Regions from separate parts of the Homo sapiens genome. Here regions 1, 2, 4, 5 and 6 are each linked to region 3. The links are contacts of gene promoters, found by promoter capture Hi-C in human tissues and cell types (Jung and others, 2019). All regions are on one chromosome and are shown on one strand. Each heading gives the region's core, a stretch centred on a gene start or on the middle of the fragment in contact. The rest is flanking DNA. Distances are from core to core; before and after follow the strand shown.

What was found. The method cuts DNA at HindIII sites, captures the fragments that hold promoters and counts their contacts. A contact is called where the count stands out against the background at its distance.
Region 1: a fragment that was not itself captured here is called in contact with the fragment with the promoter of PTPRZ1 in region 3 in 3 of the 25 tissues and cell types used here (adrenal gland, aorta and hippocampus).
Region 2: a fragment that was not itself captured here is called in contact with the fragment with the promoter of PTPRZ1 in region 3 in 2 of the 25 tissues and cell types used here (H1 embryonic stem cells and neural progenitor cells).
Region 4: a fragment that was not itself captured here is called in contact with the fragment with the promoter of PTPRZ1 in region 3 in 2 of the 25 tissues and cell types used here (IMR-90 fibroblasts and neural progenitor cells).
Region 5: a contact is called between a fragment that was not itself captured here and the fragment with the promoter of PTPRZ1 in region 3, in 4 of the 25 tissues and cell types used here (H1 embryonic stem cells, bladder, hippocampus and 1 more).
Region 6: a contact is called between a fragment that was not itself captured here and the fragment with the promoter of PTPRZ1 in region 3, in 4 of the 25 tissues and cell types used here (H1 embryonic stem cells, aorta, mesenchymal stem cells and 1 more).

Annotation. Positions count from the first base shown.
Region 1 is chr7:121,966,907-121,969,720 of GRCh38, forward strand. PTPRZ1 (protein tyrosine phosphatase receptor type Z1) reads left to right here. Exons shown (of 30, transcript NM_002851.3): 3 at 1,045-1,224. Among named protein-coding and RNA genes, the nearest start is that of PTPRZ1, 95 kb to the left of the region's middle. The HindIII fragment of the contact is 4,209 bases long and covers 1-2,814 here.
Region 2 is chr7:121,986,341-121,989,071 of GRCh38, forward strand. The region is part of intron 8 of PTPRZ1 (protein tyrosine phosphatase receptor type Z1); the gene reads left to right. Among named protein-coding and RNA genes, the nearest start is that of PTPRZ1, 110 kb to the left of the region's middle. The HindIII fragment of the contact is 4,212 bases long and covers 1-2,731 here.
Region 3 is chr7:121,871,491-121,874,473 of GRCh38, forward strand. PTPRZ1 (protein tyrosine phosphatase receptor type Z1) reads left to right here and starts at 1,671. Exons shown (of 30, transcript NM_002851.3): 1 at 1,671-2,067. The coding sequence starts at 2,010. RefSeq lists an enhancer at 1,627-2,128. The HindIII fragment of the contact is 8,425 bases long and covers 1-2,983 here.
Region 4 is chr7:121,778,205-121,780,997 of GRCh38, forward strand. No RefSeq gene overlaps it. Among named protein-coding and RNA genes, the nearest start is that of PTPRZ1, 94 kb to the right of the region's middle. The HindIII fragment of the contact is 4,451 bases long and covers 1-2,793 here.
Region 5 is chr7:121,800,825-121,803,524 of GRCh38, forward strand. No RefSeq gene overlaps it. Among named protein-coding and RNA genes, the nearest start is that of PTPRZ1, 71 kb to the right of the region's middle. The HindIII fragment of the contact is 5,772 bases long and covers 1-2,700 here.
Region 6 is chr7:121,937,618-121,940,659 of GRCh38, forward strand. The region is part of intron 2 of PTPRZ1 (protein tyrosine phosphatase receptor type Z1); the gene reads left to right. Among named protein-coding and RNA genes, the nearest start is that of PTPRZ1, 66 kb to the left of the region's middle. RefSeq lists enhancers at 441-977, 978-1,514. The HindIII fragment of the contact is 4,183 bases long and covers 1-3,042 here.

The sequences.
Region 1 (2,814 bases), core at 148-2,647, 95 kb after region 3:
TCTCATTTTCAGAAAGAAAAGCATTCAGAAGAATATAAAATGAAAACTACACTGCCACTCCTTTCTTCCTTGTGATGGCCATGGAAATGCTAGCGTTTAACCAGAGACTTGGACTCTCAATATTTCAAATGTTTTAAAAGAACTTTAAGTAGAATATACCTGTGCTTAGCACTGCTTGGGTGCTAAGTTAACATGCAGTGAAATAAGATTACGGGAGGTGATTCATGGTTTCAGGTAGGGGTGAAATAAAGGCAACAAAGGGCAGTTTGGGTTTAGAGGACGCTTCATACTGTGGAACATGTGAAAATTTAGTTTATTTTAAGCAAAAATCTTTATAGAAATCCCTGTTTTGCTTTTCTTATTGTTAAACAATAAAATGTGCTAGGCTTTACGACCAGAGAAAAATGGGAAGGAGATATTTTAAGGACAGCCTGATGATTATGTTTTTGTAAATAAGATCCCAAACAGATGGAAATTAAACCAAATCTTTCAATGACAGAGGGTGACAGTAGGTCTGAAGGCAGCTACTTTTATGGAGAGTGTTGAGGAAGTCAGAACTTTACTCCTATATCTGGATTCCTTTCAATCTGGAATCCTGGGCTAGGACTAACTACCTTACAGGACAATTAAGCTTTTTGTTGATTTGAAAGAATTGTGATGACTGGACAAAGCCATTGCTGAACCCTGAACTTGTCACATTATGAGAGGTGGCCATTAGATCAAGCTTGCATAAAAGTTAGTTCTCATTGACTCCCTGATCACAAAAAGAAGATGTTGTAGACTAAAGTTGTACCAAACCTTGGTTGTTGTTCTATAGACTTGTTTTTTTATAGTGGCATGGTTGTTCTACAGACCTTTTGTAGTGTTTCGTATTGAAATCCAGAATCTAAATACAGGCATAATTATTTCATGCATTAGTTCAAAGATGTCAAACATTTTTCTACTATTGCATCTATTTTTATGTAATGTATTAACTATAATGTAAAGTTTAATTTTTGCATGGTAATTTAAGAAACTAAATTTCTTACTCCTTCTTTTCCCTAGGAGCACTGAATCAAAAAAATTGGGGAAAGAAATATCCAACATGTAATAGCCCAAAACAATCTCCTATCAATATTGATGAAGATCTTACACAAGTAAATGTGAATCTTAAGAAACTTAAATTTCAGGGTTGGGATAAAACATCATTGGAAAACACATTCATTCATAACACTGGGAAAACAGGTAAAATATTTGCATTCTGTTTGCCTTTAATATATTTTTCAGACCTGGAGTATGTTTAGACTAGTTTCATCTCATTTTCCTTTGAATAGTGTACTATGAACTAGATAGAAGTTACATGTAGAAGAAACCAAATGGAGCAGAGAAAATGGGAAATTTAGACAATATTTTGACAATTTGTACAAAAAAAAAATGACCAATGTCATCATGTCATGTTTTCCTACAAGGTAACAATAATGATGCTGCCTCTAGAAGATGTGATAATGTGATTTACAGCTAATATAATTTAGTCAATTACTTAGTCAATCAGGATTTCTTTTTCTTGAGCATTATAGTTTGATCTTTTCTGCCTAGCCTCATGTTATAGTCAGTATTTGGATATGAAAAAAGCAATTGGCTATAATTGAAATTTAAGAAAATAAATTCCTAGCTCTTCTATATAGAAGGTTTAAAGTTGTATCCCATCCTTAGGAAACCCTCTCTAAGTGTCTTTTTATTGAGCCTATCTTTTTTTTTTTTTAAAAAAAAGCAAAATATAATACATTAAAATTTAAGTACAAATTCTAATAAGCTATACATAGATAAATAATTTCCAAAAAGTGACACCTTTTCTTTTTTGATATTCTAGTTTTTTTAAAAATTGTATTTTGGGAAATTATGTAAAGGCAAATATACACGTAAGACAAAGATTAGAAAAATATTCAAAATTATAATAGTAGCTCTATGGGGATAAGCTTTATCATTGGTGAATTTTTTTTATATTTTCTATATTTAGGTAATGTAATTATTTGAACATAATAATTTAATTTCAAAACTCAAGAGAGTAGTAGTCAGGCACTGTGGCTCACGCCTGTGATCCCAGCACTTCGGGAGGCCGAAGTGGCTGGATCACTTGAGGTCAAGAGTACCAGACTAGCCTGGCCAATATGGCAAAAACCCATCTCTACTAAAAATACAAAAATTAGCTGGGTGTGGTGGCACACTCCTGTAATTCCAGATACTCAGGAGGCTGAGACACAAGAATCACTTGAACTCAAGAGTTGGAGGCTGCAGTGAGCCAAGATCATGCCACTGCACTCCAGCCTGGACAACAGAGTGAGATCCTATCCAAAAAATCAAATCAAAACAAACAAACAAACAAAAAACAACTCCTGCTGGGCGCAGTGGCTCACGCCTGTAATCCCAGCATTTTGGGAGGCCAAGGTGGGTGGATCACCTGAGGTCAGGAGTTCAAGACCAGCTTGGTCAACATGGCAAAACCCCACCTCTACTAAAAATAAAAAAATTAGCCAGGCATGGTGGTGCATGCCTGTAATCCCAGCTACTCGGGAGGCTGAGGCAGGAGAATTGATTGAACCCAGGAGTCGGAGGTTGAGTGAGCTGAGATTGTGCCATTGCACTCCAGCCTGGGCAACAAGAGCGAAACTCTGTCTCAAAAAAAAAAAAAAAAAAAATCTCATGAAAGTAGAGATTTTTCTACATCAGTGCCTGATATGTAATAAACACTAAGTATTTCTTGAATGAATAATTTTTAAAATTATTATGTTACATGTAATAATTACCTAAAAGTATATTGTCCCAAATCTTGACATT
Region 2 (2,731 bases), core at 223-2,722, 110 kb after region 3:
AAAGCTTTGCAAACTTCTGTCCACTGTACTTGACATTTATACAGGAACATAATTTCTGCTTACATAAAAAACTGATGACTTTAAAGACATGAAGCTTCAAAAAAATAGTAATGGATTTTGAGTGTTTTGTTTATCCTAAGGTCAAACACAGAAACAACACTTTCTTAACTACTTGGTGTTTTGGGTTCTAGAAATACATGATAGGACCTATAAAGTAAGGAAAATAATTTTCTTGAATGGAGCTTGTAGGAATCGATTTTATTCCCTTAGACTATGTGTGTATATTGTCACAGAATTTCACATCCCTGCTGCAATACTATTATGACTGCCATAGTAATAATAATTTATTTATCACCTATTTGTCTGTGGTTTGGTTCCAAAATAAATGGCAGAACTAACTAGAAAAACAGCAACTCAAAATAGACTCACTCATTTAAATTGAAGGGACTTAAATATGCAATACTTAAGGAAAAACTAGAAAGTTTAACAATAAAAATGCACATTTACAGGCTGTTTTTGTTGTCTACTTATCCTATATGTGTGCCTTCCCCAGCTTCCTCAAGAAAATCCAGTCACACCAACTACTTTGTTATGTTTGTATTTTTGACTAAATATTTATGGAGTGATGGGGAGAGGCTACAAAACTCAGCATCTCATCAAAATATCTGCCTACAGCTTAGACAATATTGCTTATATAGTGTTATCCGCTTATATTGTATATCCTTAGGATAAATAAAAGTGCTCAAAAGACAATCCTAGTTTTTATTAGTGTTTTGTATCTTTATGGCCATCAGTTTTTATTCTAAAATTATGTTAGCAGAAACACATCTCTTCTGCAGTCTCCCTTGCTGGGCCTTAGAGTCTTTGCCTTCAGATTGTTTGACCCTCCTCTTTGGTCAGTTCCCCTCACAGAGTCTCAGCTGCTACCCTCATCCCACCCAAGTCTTCACGTCTTCTTAAGGCAGGAAAATTAGCTTTGTCCCAGGTCCTTCAAACTTGCCTGCCCGTGCTCATCCTAATGAGCTCAGCAATCAAAAAAGGCCCTTTTTGGTAGAATGATTTATTTTCTTTTGGGTGTATACCCAGTAATGGGATTGCTGGGTCAAACGGTAGCTCTGTTTTAAGTTCTTGAGAAATCTCCAGATTGCTTTCCACAATGGCTGGACTAATTTATATTCCCACCAACAGTGTATAAGCATTCCCTTTTCCCTGCAGCCTCACTAGATGCAATGTTTGTTGGCTTTTTAATAATAGCCATTCTGAATGGTATGAGATGGTATCTCATTGTGGTTTTGGTTTGTATTTCTCCGATGATTAGTGATGGTGAGTAGTTTTTCATATGTTTCTTAGCAGTTGTATGCCTTCTTCTAAGAAGTGACATATGCACTTATATGTTCATTGCTGTGCTAGTCACAATAGCAAAGATATGGAATCAACCCATGTGCTCAGTGGTAGATTAAAAAAATGTAGTACATATACACTATGGAACACTACACAGTCATAAAAAATGAAATCATGTTTTTTTGCAGCAAGATGGATGGAGCTGCAGGTCATAATCCTAAGTGAACTAATGCAGGGACAGAAAACCAAGTACCTCATGTTCTCACTTATAAGTGGGAGCTAAACATTAATTACACATAGACATAAACATGGGAACAGTAGACACTGTGGTGTACGAGAGAGTGGAGAGGTGGGTGAGTTAAAAAGTCTCCCTATCAAATATAATGCTCACTAGCTGAGTGATGGGATTTGTACTCTAAACCTCAGCATCTTTTAGTATTCTCATGTAACAAACCTGCATATGTGCTCTTCTATCTAAAATAAAAGTTGAAGTAAAAATAAATAAATACATAAATATTTTTTAAAAGGGGCCCTTCGTTTGCCAAAACATATCCCCTTCTAGGGGGGATCAGAGATGATACAGAACTTTTTTTTTCTGGTTACATAGACTAATATGCACATTTATGATTTTAAAGTTTCAATCATTGTCAAAATATATCATTTTGAGACAGCAATGAAATAGAAAAGTCAGGTCATGTTGGTTGGATGAGTCTCATCCATACAGTTACATATTCAGTCGATTCTTTTTTGGATTTAATACAAACCACTGTCAAATAATTAATATGCCCTTATGCGTATAGGGCCTTTCTGATTCCTCTTTCTTCTGAACCATCATAATCCCTGACCTGCAGCTGTGGCACTTTGCCTTTCTTGCCTTGCTTCAGGGGTGTTTATGTGCATGCCTTAGTTTCTTAGTAGATCCCTGTCTAATTGATCTCAGTGTTACCTGTAACATCTGATAAAGTACCTGGCAGGTAGTAAGAGCCCTTTGATTCCTTGATGAATGGTGAATAAGTGAATGAATTAAAACATTGGCCAAAGCTTACTCATGTCTAAGCCTCTGGGGTTAAAAAGAGCATATGTGTTATTGGCAACAAACACAGAAGGAATGACTGGCTTTAGATTTCCAGACAGGTTGGAGCCAAGTTCTTCTTGCTGAACATCCTTTAAATAATTTAAAATTTGCAAAGCCTTCAGAAGAATACAGTACAGTAGGATTAGCATGTGTGTACAGTTCATGTTCAAAATTAAAGATCATTCCAGGAAAAGAAAGATTCTAATTTTAAAAAGATAGTATCAGTATTATGACAGAATTGTTATGAAATAGTTTCCTCTGTGACTGAAAAAAATAGCAAATAATTTACATTCTTCATTTTGACTCTGTTGATCC
Region 3 (2,983 bases), core at 421-2,920:
TCTTGTTTAACTACACATCTCTAGGAAAGCTTTCCTGCCTACTCCAGTCAATATTAAATAAAACTTTCTCTGAACTCTCAGTGCACAGTCAGTTTATACACCTGCATACTTCTTGTAATGCTAGCAAAAAAAAATGGCCCCCAAATTTTCTTCCTATATGGAAACTCACATGAGCAGCCATCAATCCCCATCATAATTCTTGTAAAAGTTGTAGCATTTCTATTTCTGTTCATGGAAAGAATAAGATCAAGGATCAACTTCTTAATATTGATATGTGTTTCTGAATAAACACTAAATGGTTTCAAAATCTGTTATTACATGACTATAATCTATTCCTGAAGCAACAGCAAACTGCCATTAGCTTGCACATTTAGCCAAATGTTCACAGGCTGGGATATTAGCAAGAACTCGTAGTAACACTTGAAATACATTCAGAACCCAATTTTATGTGCAGGAAGTTTTCTTTAAAATTTTTAAAGCTAGAATACTATTTTTGAGACAAGAACAGGACACAAGAGTATACACTGTACAGATACCTACTTCAAATTGTTACTAAGAATACATGGGATAATTCCACAACTTGGCTTTCTGTGCCTTAGATGGGACTCCTAAAAGGCTCTAAAGTGGGTCTCATATACGAAAAACATGTACTAATAGTTAAAGGATATCATATAAATGAAAATCTCATAAATTTTCAGTGTAGAGACTACCACCAATTACCTTCTCATTATTTCCTTTTGGCTTCAAATTAATTCAACAAATATTCAGGGAACACCTATTGATTTTTTTTAAGGCCATTTTGCTAGGATCTGGGGTTATAGTAATAAAGGTAAACTCCCTGCCATCAAGGCGCTCACAGTCTAATTCTGAACACCACCAAAGAAAAGAGCACATGAGGGTGACATTTCCAGCTCTAAGGCAGCAGAAGGTATGCATTATACATTTTTTGCATACCCTTCAATCAAGCAATAAAAAATCTTCCCGTTCGACCCTGTGGGAGGAGGCACTTGTGTGGTTCGGTCTGGCAGGACCACCGCCGTGTTGAAAGTCCCCCCAGACAGCTGTGCCCAGCACGGCAGTTTCGTTGGGGTCTAGGGAAAGGGCAGGGTCAGACTGGTCACAATCAGGGCTGGAGATTTTTTGGAGTCAACTCTCCCAAAGGCAATGGGGTCTACTGCTTTATTAGGAAAATGGAAAGAAAAAAGGGAGGGAAACAATGTACCCAGGCGCCCCCACCGCATTCTGATTGGACCCACTTAAGCATCTGCAGAAAACAATAAAATGAAAAAAACTCTTAGAGGTGAAACTCAAAGGTCAACCTCTGGCTGTGCGGGACAATGGGTGTCCGGCCTTCCCTTCCCTTCCCTTCCGAAGTGATGAAGGAGTTCCAATGTTCTGCGAACACTGGAAACCCCAGCGGATCCCTCTAACTCCAGGGCAGCGAAACCACTGGCAGCGGACAGAGGGAGGATTGTCGGTGTGTGAATTGCTACCCTGGGATCCGGACCCAGAGCGGCAGCCGCGCCCCTCCGCCCCCCGCGCGACCCCGGGTCCGAGGCACGCTCCCAGCGGAGCGGTCCTGCGCCCCCGCCCCCTCCAGGAGCCGCGGCGCGCACAGCCGGGCTGGAGCGCGCACCCGGCACTGAGGCTTCGCTGCTCTCGGAGCGCTCAGACCGCGGCCGCCGCAGCCGGCGAAAGAGGCAAAGTCCCGCACGCCGGAGGACATGCGCCTCGGCTAGCGGCCCCGGGCCCCACCACCGTGCGGCTTTCTCCAGATTATTCCTCTCTCGCTGTCTCTGACTGTCTCTCTCTGTCTCTGTCTCTGTCTCTCTCTCTCTCACACACACACACACACACACAAACACACATACGCACGCACGATCTCACTTCGATCTATACACTGGAGGATTAAAACAAACAAACAAAAAAAACATTTCCTTCGCTCCCCCTCCCTCTCCACTCTGAGAAGCAGAGGAGCCGCACGGCGAGGGGCCGCAGACCGTCTGGAAATGCGAATCCTAAAGCGTTTCCTCGCTTGCATTCAGCTCCTCTGTGTTTGCCGCCTGGGTGAGTGAGAAGAGCTCGGTGGGGTTTCAGCTCCGGGATCGGTGGGATGAGGGTGGGAGCATTTCAGCGTGTCCGCGACTTGCCGCCGCCGCCGCCATCTAGCCAGGAGGAAAAAGGGACAGCCAACTGGGCTCCCACGGAGCGGGCGGCCGCGCGGTGCAGGCAGCTGCGTGGGATTTGCGCGCCCCCTCCCCGCCCCGCGCCCTCGCCCCTTCCATCGGCCCGCGGGCATTCGTGCCCCGGGCCCCAGGAGACGGAGCTACTGGAGACGGAGGGCTACTCGGATCCCTGCCGCCACCGTTCTTCTCTCCTCTTTTGCAAAGTGTAGAAATCGCCTTTTAGATATACATAGGAAGATAAATGACCAGAAATACAGCTGTGGTGCGGGGCTGTGTACTGTACTGTCTTTTTTGCTGTTCATTTTTATGCTATAGGTATGATGGGCTTAAATGGAAAGTACACGTGTCTGGTGTGAATTGCAGACACACACACACACACACACACACACCTGAAAGGTAGTAACAGGCACAAGCACCAACCTGACTTTTCAGGGTTTTTTTTATTACTTTCAATTTAGTCATATTCAAGTCTGCGCAATTACTTACAAAAAAAAAAGTTCCATCTAAATCTCTAGGTTTGGTCAGTGCTGCCAAAGTCAGAGGAGAGCTGCAGGTTGATATACTTATTCACAGATTTCATTTTTCATCTGCACCCTCCAGGTTACATTTAAAACTGAAATTGCATTCAGCAATAGCCAGTTTAAGCATTCCCTTTACCTGCGATGCAGACTCAAGTTTTCCAGTCATTTTCGAGAAGTGCAAGATTGGACTTTTGCGTTTTATTAAAGAAATGCTTTTTTTCCTTCATGATTTTCCATCGCGATAGAATATAATGGGTTTACGCATTAACCTGAAAG
Region 4 (2,793 bases), core at 65-2,564, 94 kb before region 3:
GCCTGGAAAAAGTGATTGAACAGAATATGGTTGAAAGAGCAATTGGAGAAAAGAAAACTCTGTTATATTTTGGCTCTACCAGGGTGAAACTTTAGTAAACCAGCTACCTCTATAAATATTGAGCAGCATCTTGTACATATTTGACAATGGAACCACAAAGAGTTAACTGCAAATAACTTGCAGCCTTGTTAACCTTAAACTACCAACAAGCTTGGGTAAGAAAATGGACTACAAATCATCAGTTTAGTAGGGATCCCTGTTTTACCACATATTGCAAAAATGTCTTTAAATATCCCTTACTATTTGTCATCAAATACATATATACTCATATTTTTGATACACAAATCTATCTTTGTTTTACCATCTTTGTAAACATCAAAGTCACAGAGCCAGGAATATGTCACAACTTTCTTCCAACTTCAATTTTTGACTTGCTTTTACATCTTTTTCCTATGTAGTCTGACGGAGCTTAGAAAAAATAATTTAAATTCTTTTTGTCTATTCCCTTTTCAATCCTCTGAAAACTATGCAAAAGAACAGAAATATATCCACCAACTTCTGTATGAAGTCACCAAGAATACCGCAACCAGCAAAGAACTCCTCTCTAAAAACGTGGCTCATCCCCTCGAAAGGTAAAGGTATATCTCTTTCTTCCATTTGGGAGTTGGATTGAACTGTTTGTCTTCAGCATCAAAGGATTATAATCATCTACTTTTTTCACGCATAGATTTCAGCTGCAATATTGTTAAGCACGAAGTCTGTACATCACCATATAATCCCCTTATATTAAGATTTGCATTAATCTTTTTGAAAGCATTCAAAATGTTCAGTGTCCACTCTCATATTTTTCAGGAAGAAACATTTTTTAAAAGTTTGTGAAAAAAATAACGAAAACTATTCCTTCTCTCTCTTCTTCCCCTAGATGAATGAATTCTCCCCAAGCGTTCACATTTCCAACTTTGCTTTTGGTCTCCCTGACTACAGTTGACCCAGTTGGCCACTGTTTACTTGAATTCATTCTTCTCTTCTTAAAACATAATATTCCTATTTCCTCAGCTAAAGTTTCACTCTTTCCCATTTCCTCCCCTCTTTATGACCCATAGTGTGAAGCCAACCAAAGTTTTATTTGATATTTTGTTCCCCCCTTTCTATATACTCTCTATGGTTACCCATTCTCTCAGTTTCAGCTGTCACACTTAGGCTGGTGATTCCCTAAATTTATAATTTATGTCTTAGCTTTTAATTCTTTCCCATAATTTATTTCAGAGGGCATGTCCCTTAGGAGTCTGTCATCTGACATGTAAACAAGCCTTAAACCCAGCCAAACGTCCCTAGTCCTTAACTAGCACCCAAAATCTGCCTGTATTCAATCAGTTACATGCTGACCCTGCTCCACCTCATGTATTTGTACTTTCTTCATCTCCCTAAACTCCTCCCAAGGGCTGGCCAAACCCTAGCTATATCCTAAGTCTCTAGCTTCTGAGCCTGCCATTTTATCCTGCACACACCTGCCAGGATTATCTTTTAAACACTGCTTTCATCACATCAGTTTCCTAGACTCACATTCCCTTTACTGTGACATCTCATGTAAATTCTTGAGTCTGGTGTCTGAGGTCCTTCATCAATGGGGTCCACAACCTCCATATTTTCTAACCAAATATCTCATCACCCTTTAATATACCCTTGCTCTAGCTGAATGAAGGAAACCATCACCTCCCACATATATCTTAATCATCTCCTCTATGTGCTTTTATCACAACCTCAAATTCCTTCTTTGTCCTTTTTACTGGCCATGCTTATTACTGGCCTGCTTATTATTTCTATCTTTGGCTGTATAATGACTATAGGTTATGTCCATCCTGAGATGACAAAATGTCCTCTACTTCTTATGTAGTCTGTTTTTTTTAATTTGTCTTGAGGATCTCATGCTTAGTAGTCATCAAAGGTCATTTTTTTATACTGATGACAATCCAAGTCATTAATCAAATACATTGTCAACCTAAACATAAACAAAGTATGTATAACTTCAGATGAAAGGAGGAACTCATAAAAAGTCCCAATTTATCCCTAAATTCAACGAACATTTATTGGGCATTGCCACATGATGGGGAATATCACTATGCCTGCAACTAGGAATAAGAAGAGATATTGTAAAACCCTCCTAAAATCTAAAAATGCTCAATAGTTTGAAAGACTCATCTTAAAAATTATTTTCTCATTCACAGGCAGGCACCAGCCATTTTTCAAATCTTGATTAACGTTAGGTCATTTAAATATGAACCCTTTAAATCTAGGAGACAGTATATGGTAGTTGAAAGAATTCATTCATTTAACGAGCATTTTATTGAGTACCTTCTAGGTTCTGAGTACATGAATGAATGAGCTCCCTACTTAGGGAAATTGTTTTCATCTTACTGCACCTTCTGCCAAAGGAAATACATTTTACATTATTTTAAAATGAGGAAGCACATAAAGACATGGAATGCTTGCTTTCAGAAGAACTAAAAATTACTCTGCATGTTTAGTAATATTGTAATTAAAACTCTAAAAATCATCCTTATGCTAATATCAAGTATATAAATATCAATGGTTTCATCCTCAAAGGCAGACTGAAACCTTATCTACTCTCTAACCTTATATCATAAAGTTCTCTGGAAACACATCAGTGCAGTTTTCTTAACTTCTAAAAGAAAAGAAATACTTTAAACTGAAAGCAAGAATGCAGTATTTGTTTTATATAATTGAGCTATTTCCATAATTAAAATTCCAACTAATTTTTATGGGAAACATCCC
Region 5 (2,700 bases), core at 153-2,652, 71 kb before region 3:
TAACCTTCAAGAAATATGTTATTGCAGGACATAGAATGACATCTATCTCATTGTCAATAACATAGTATTGTTATCGGACTAAGGGACAATGAGATAGAGGTCAAGGATCACTGTTTGTGGAGAGGTGGCATTTGAGCTCCTATTGAAAAAGGAGTAAGACTTTAGTCAGGTAAGGAGTGATCCCTAAGGGAAGGCATGGTGGTGAAAATCAGCCTTCTAACATTACAAGGTGCTATGCAACAGCTTTTTTGCAATCACAATTTTTCAGCAAGATGACTGGTGGAAGCTTACGTTTATGCTTGCCTTGCCCCAGGTCAATGGGCCTTGCATTTTCTCAGTCCACTAGTGGTGAGGTCAGTGAATTCTGCCTCAATTCCATAGGCTAGAAATATGTCTATATGGATTTTTTTTTTACCTCTCTTTTTTCCCATGTATGGAAGTAGGTATGGTAGATGAATCTGTTCAGAAATTTGGACATAGTGACATAAAGATAAATTGAATATTCAGAAAGTTTAGATGATCCAGCATGAATAGGTTAGAGTTGTTGAAAAATTGAACATGGTGATTAAAATCATACCTATCTGTTCAGTTTCTCTCAGGCATCTATCCTTTGGCCACATTTCCCAAGGGTGTTGGGAAAGTGTGCCTGAAGCATATCTTCCATGAATCATCCCTTTCTGATTTCCATATCTTGTTTCCTGTTCCTCAAAAGCCCTTCTACCTTCCCCAACACCTCAACAGCTGCTTTTTTCCTTTAAGTTATTTATCTCCCTTATGGGTACAACTGAAAATGACATGCTGTCTGTGTTGTCTATTCCAAACTACTGGATTTATAAGTGTCTTTGCAAATTAGTTCTCCACGGTTCTTTTAAGCTCTCATTCTACTTTAACAATACCGTCCTTATTGGGAAGCATGCATAGTATCTTATAGGTATGGTTTATGGAAGAAATGGAACTAAGAACTCCAATCAGTAGATCCATGCACAGGGAACTATGTAGAACATAAAAAATTGACGAACAAATGTGTATTTGTTTGGGTTAAGTTAAAGATATATATATATATACACACACACATATGCACACACACATACATCACTCATATGATATTCTACTTAAATGAACTTTTTGATAGCCACTCTTCTATCAGTCCTAACTTAATGGACAGATGGGTTTCTGTTGTATCTCCATTATGGTATTTTTTTTTATCATAAGCAGCCATTATTTATGTGTGTGACTCCCTGTGTGAGGGGGAGACTATGTCTTACTCGTGTTTAGTGCCTTCAATGCCCAGTAGATTACCTGAAACATTTTGTTTCATAAGTGTTTTTTTAATAAAAGGTCATATATTACCTCAGTTGATTTTCATAACAATTGATGAAGTAGATAATGTTGACATTATGCTCATTTCATAGATGAGAAAACCAAGACTCACAGAGGTTGAGTGATTTGTCCAGGGGCAAGGGCTTTAGATGAAAAGAACCTATCTTCCCAACTCATCTAAAGAGCTTATGGCAGCAGTAAGTGATGAAGCAAGTTTGATTTGGTGATTTTCCAGAGGAAGCTGGATCTTATCTCTCATAGGAAATGAGATCTCATTCAGTGGCCTATATAGAATTATTTTTCCTTTTCTAATTACCCAGGGTAATTAGAGCAGACAGAATAAACTACTCCTGCCTCCAAAAGCTTACCTGGTATTTTTTGTGTTCTCTTCTCCATAACTATCATTGATCTGATATTAATCATGTATATTCTCATGTGAATGGCATTAGAATAAGAAATGATAGGAAAAAAACCACCTCAGACTTCTTTTCAGGAGCTCCTGGGACTGCAGAGGCATATGGGACAGCAATGTCTGGTTCTCATTGCAGTTGCATAGAATTTAAGAAGCACTGTCATAAAGAGCTTTTCCAGCTTGACTTTGAAACCTAATAATCACTTATTCTGTTTTTATTTTTCTAACTGTTATGAGAACTACTATTTATTCAGCATCTTCTGAGTTTCCAGTACTCTACAGGCAATGCCTTATTTAATTCTCATAATAAACTGCCACTTTTTATTCACCTGTCAGATACCTATGCTCCCCTGATTGAAGAGAGATATCATTAATTATTGATTAGGTAACTAACCCCTGCTAATGTGTTGGCTAGCTAATCTGTAACCCTAGTGCTTAGAGGAAAAAATCTTATTTATTTAGAAGATATGTATCTCTAGAAGGTATCTATGGCAAGAATTTGAGATCACATAAATAGGAATAGAATTTGTATTGAGACTAGCTTTTTGAAGCCCTCAAATTAAATAAAATAGCTAACCCATCTGTCTCTACATAAAATCAATGCTGCTGAAAATATGCTCCAAGGAGTGCTTCAGTAACCTTGGTAATGACATGCAAGCTCCCTGCCCATAGACTCTCCTTGACTCATCAGGAAGTGCCATTTGGACAATTTTAGTTTAGGAAAGCAGCCAGTCTCCAGCCCAACTCCTGCACACCCTTTTCTTTGTCAGTAGAGGTAGAACTGGATTTAGAAAACATTTGCCTCTAAATATGATGTATCTAGATATAACAGCTCTTTGTAAATGGTGGTATAAACCTCAACGACTAGGAGCAGCTGTGGAGAGTGACACAGAAACTCAAGCAATCTCCCTTTCAAGTCTCTTCTAACACCATTTATAGTGAGAGAAGAGAGAGAACCATTTAAATAA
Region 6 (3,042 bases), core at 388-2,887, 66 kb after region 3:
AATTAAACAGGCACCCAGAGTCAGGGTGGAGACTGATGGTCTGGAGGAAGAAGCAGCAACCTTCAACAAAATCAGATTCTGGTCCATGCAAGCTAAACTTCATTCCCTTAGGGGATGCTATTCAGCTCCCTAATTTAGTAGAATAACTTCTGATGACCAATAAAAAGGAGCCTATATACACACAGGCTGAGGAGACTTAGTGTGATAAGATGGTAGATGCCTTCTGATCGGATTCCATTAATGCCGAGATCCTTAAAGTGTAGAGATCTGAGCCATTATCTTCACAAGTATTGTAAGTGCCAATCTGATATTTTTTTCCCACAAGGAAAACACTTTTTTATTTATCATTATAAAAGTGTGTTCATCTAAGAAAATCATGTATGTATCATATATTTCATATTTCATATGTTTATATATATTTATCTACCTATCTATTAATATCTATCTATTTATCTATATAATTTCACCTTCCAGAGATAACTACTCTTAATGTCTTCTGTTGGGGAAATATAATTAAAAACAAAATCTCCCACCTCAGAAATCCTCTCCATAAATGTAATAACAACAACAACAAAAAGCAGTTTTATTATCAAACAAGCATTAAACCAGAATGTAATACACATCATAGGCAATCACTGAAAGATTGCGAAGATAGGAAGAAATCTCACCCCCCCATATAGCCAAATAGGTACAACCCATTGCATGTTTTCAAGATAAACAATAACTTGTCTTTAAGTAGAAGGACTTGGCAGCAACTTTGTCACACATGGTTCAGCTAAACTTTAACTGGTAATTGGAGTGACTATTTGTGTTACCCTATTGGCTTCATCCAGAGGGAAAATAAACTTCATATTTTTGAGACAAGAGGTAGCTTTACAAGTTGGAGCCAGAGGCTCATGGAAGTTAAGCTCCTGCCTTCCCATAGAAATTGGGAGAGTGGAGCACCATCTTCCTCGATGTTTGCATTTCATAAGGATGGCCCCCGGGTCCTTGAGAAAAACATCCTGGATCATAAAGCTGACAAAGGGCCTATCTAGCTTTCAAAAGGATTGATATACATTGCAAAACAAGGAGAAAGTATTTACAACGATCTCTTTTCTAAAGCAAATGCTCTTTAAAAAAGGACGGGGTGGGGGTGGAGAGAAAAGTGTCTTCCTGGTTTTCAATGGGGAGAATTAAGCCTCTTACTTTTACTTTTTATTTGTCCTTACACTTCCTAATTATGCATCCTGAATTCTGATGGCCTCTTACTAGATGTACTGCTTTTATCTCAATAGTAGTACCTGCTTTTATCTCAATAGTAGTTTGTGAATATCTTTCTAAGTAAATGTAACTAAATCAGTGTGAGGGCAACAGAAAAAATAAGCTTCTACCAGGGCAAAACTTTGACTATCCATGTGTCTGAGGCAGAGACTCACACATAGTAGGAGCCCAATATATATTTGATAGTTGTTACTTTATTTCCAGTCTCATGGGGAACAGAAATAATTTTGCCTGAGAGGAATTGTGACTAGTAATAACATAATTTCAGGGGATCATCCCAAATCCTTCTTGCAACAAATAGATTATACAAAAGATAAACACTGTGGAGTGAGTTCAGAGCAAGGCTTAGCATATAAGAAGTAGCTAAAAATCGTAATGAATTGGAAAACAGGGAAGGCTGCATTTTATAGTGCTTTGCCACCTGGAAATTGAAACAAAGGCAGAGCCACCTAGAACCAGTGCCAAAGCAAATCCAAAACTTGGCATATGCCAAAATATATTACCTCTAAACTCTGTAGTTTCCATTCTTTCATACTTCATTAGCATATCTAGGAAGTAAGATCTATTTGCAGCACTTTGAAAAAAATAAATAAATGACATGTAGTTTTTCTTTTCCAAGACCCTAAAAGTTTGTTCTTGAAGATCAGTTGTATTTATGCATATAACATACTCATATATCATTCAGATTTTTATGTTCAGTCAACTTGTGTTAGAATATGAAGGAGTAAACTTCTCATCAACTCCCTAGCTTGCCTTCTACCTTAATGATATTTTAAACTTACTGACAAAGGAAAATTTAAAGTGTGGATATTATTAGTTTAATCAATACTCATTGGATTGTACAGCGTAAGCCAGACACTGTACTAGGCATCAGAGATGCAGTGATGAGTGTAAGTAATCACAAGTATGCAAACAATAGTGATTAAGCGTGATTTTTTTTTTAAAGCATGGTAAATACCTCATGGAGATGGTGTTAATGTAAGGTACGGAACCCTAATTGGCCTAAGAGTTTCAGGGAAGGCTTACCAGAGAAAGCGACTTTAGATTCAGATAAAGCATAAATAGGAGTTAAATCAACATGGGTGAAAAATTGTGCCAGGCAAAGGGAGCAGCTATCCTAAGATCTGTAGGTGAAGGAGAAATCACTGTGCTCCAGCCTCTACCGCATTCTTCCTGCTTTTGGACAGAAAATTAGGAATGTGATGAGACAAGCTTCTTGGGGCCCACTGAATTAATTCCCATACACTTACCCTATTGAAAATTCTGGATAACAAGATTTATGCCATAGTTTGATTGGCAATGGCTTACATTTTAACTGTTGACTTCTTTGCATTTAAGAGATGTTAGGCATGATTTTACATCAGCACACTAGTTAGGAAACGAAAGGAAAAGGGACTAGTAAAAGAGTCCAAAAGAGAGGGGTATGAGAAAAGGAGCTTTACCTACTCCAAGAGGGGTACAGCTTCAAGTTGATAGGATTAATCAACATTGTCACACATAGTTCTGGGGAGTTCATAGTGAGATAAAGACTATGGACTTGGATGTATTTTAATGAAGCAGGTTGTAGTGGGGATTCTTTTGTTAGTTTGTCTGATGGGAATACAAGCTCCAGAGACAGTCCTACTCTTTCCTTCTAATCTGGGCTCCATCTTACATGTCATCTTTTTTGTCCCAAAGTTTTTCACCTGTAAAAAGAACTAATGTTAGTACCAAGCTCAGCAGGTGCTGCAATGATTACATGTGTAAGTATATACAAAGCAGTTAGAATAGTGTCTGGTG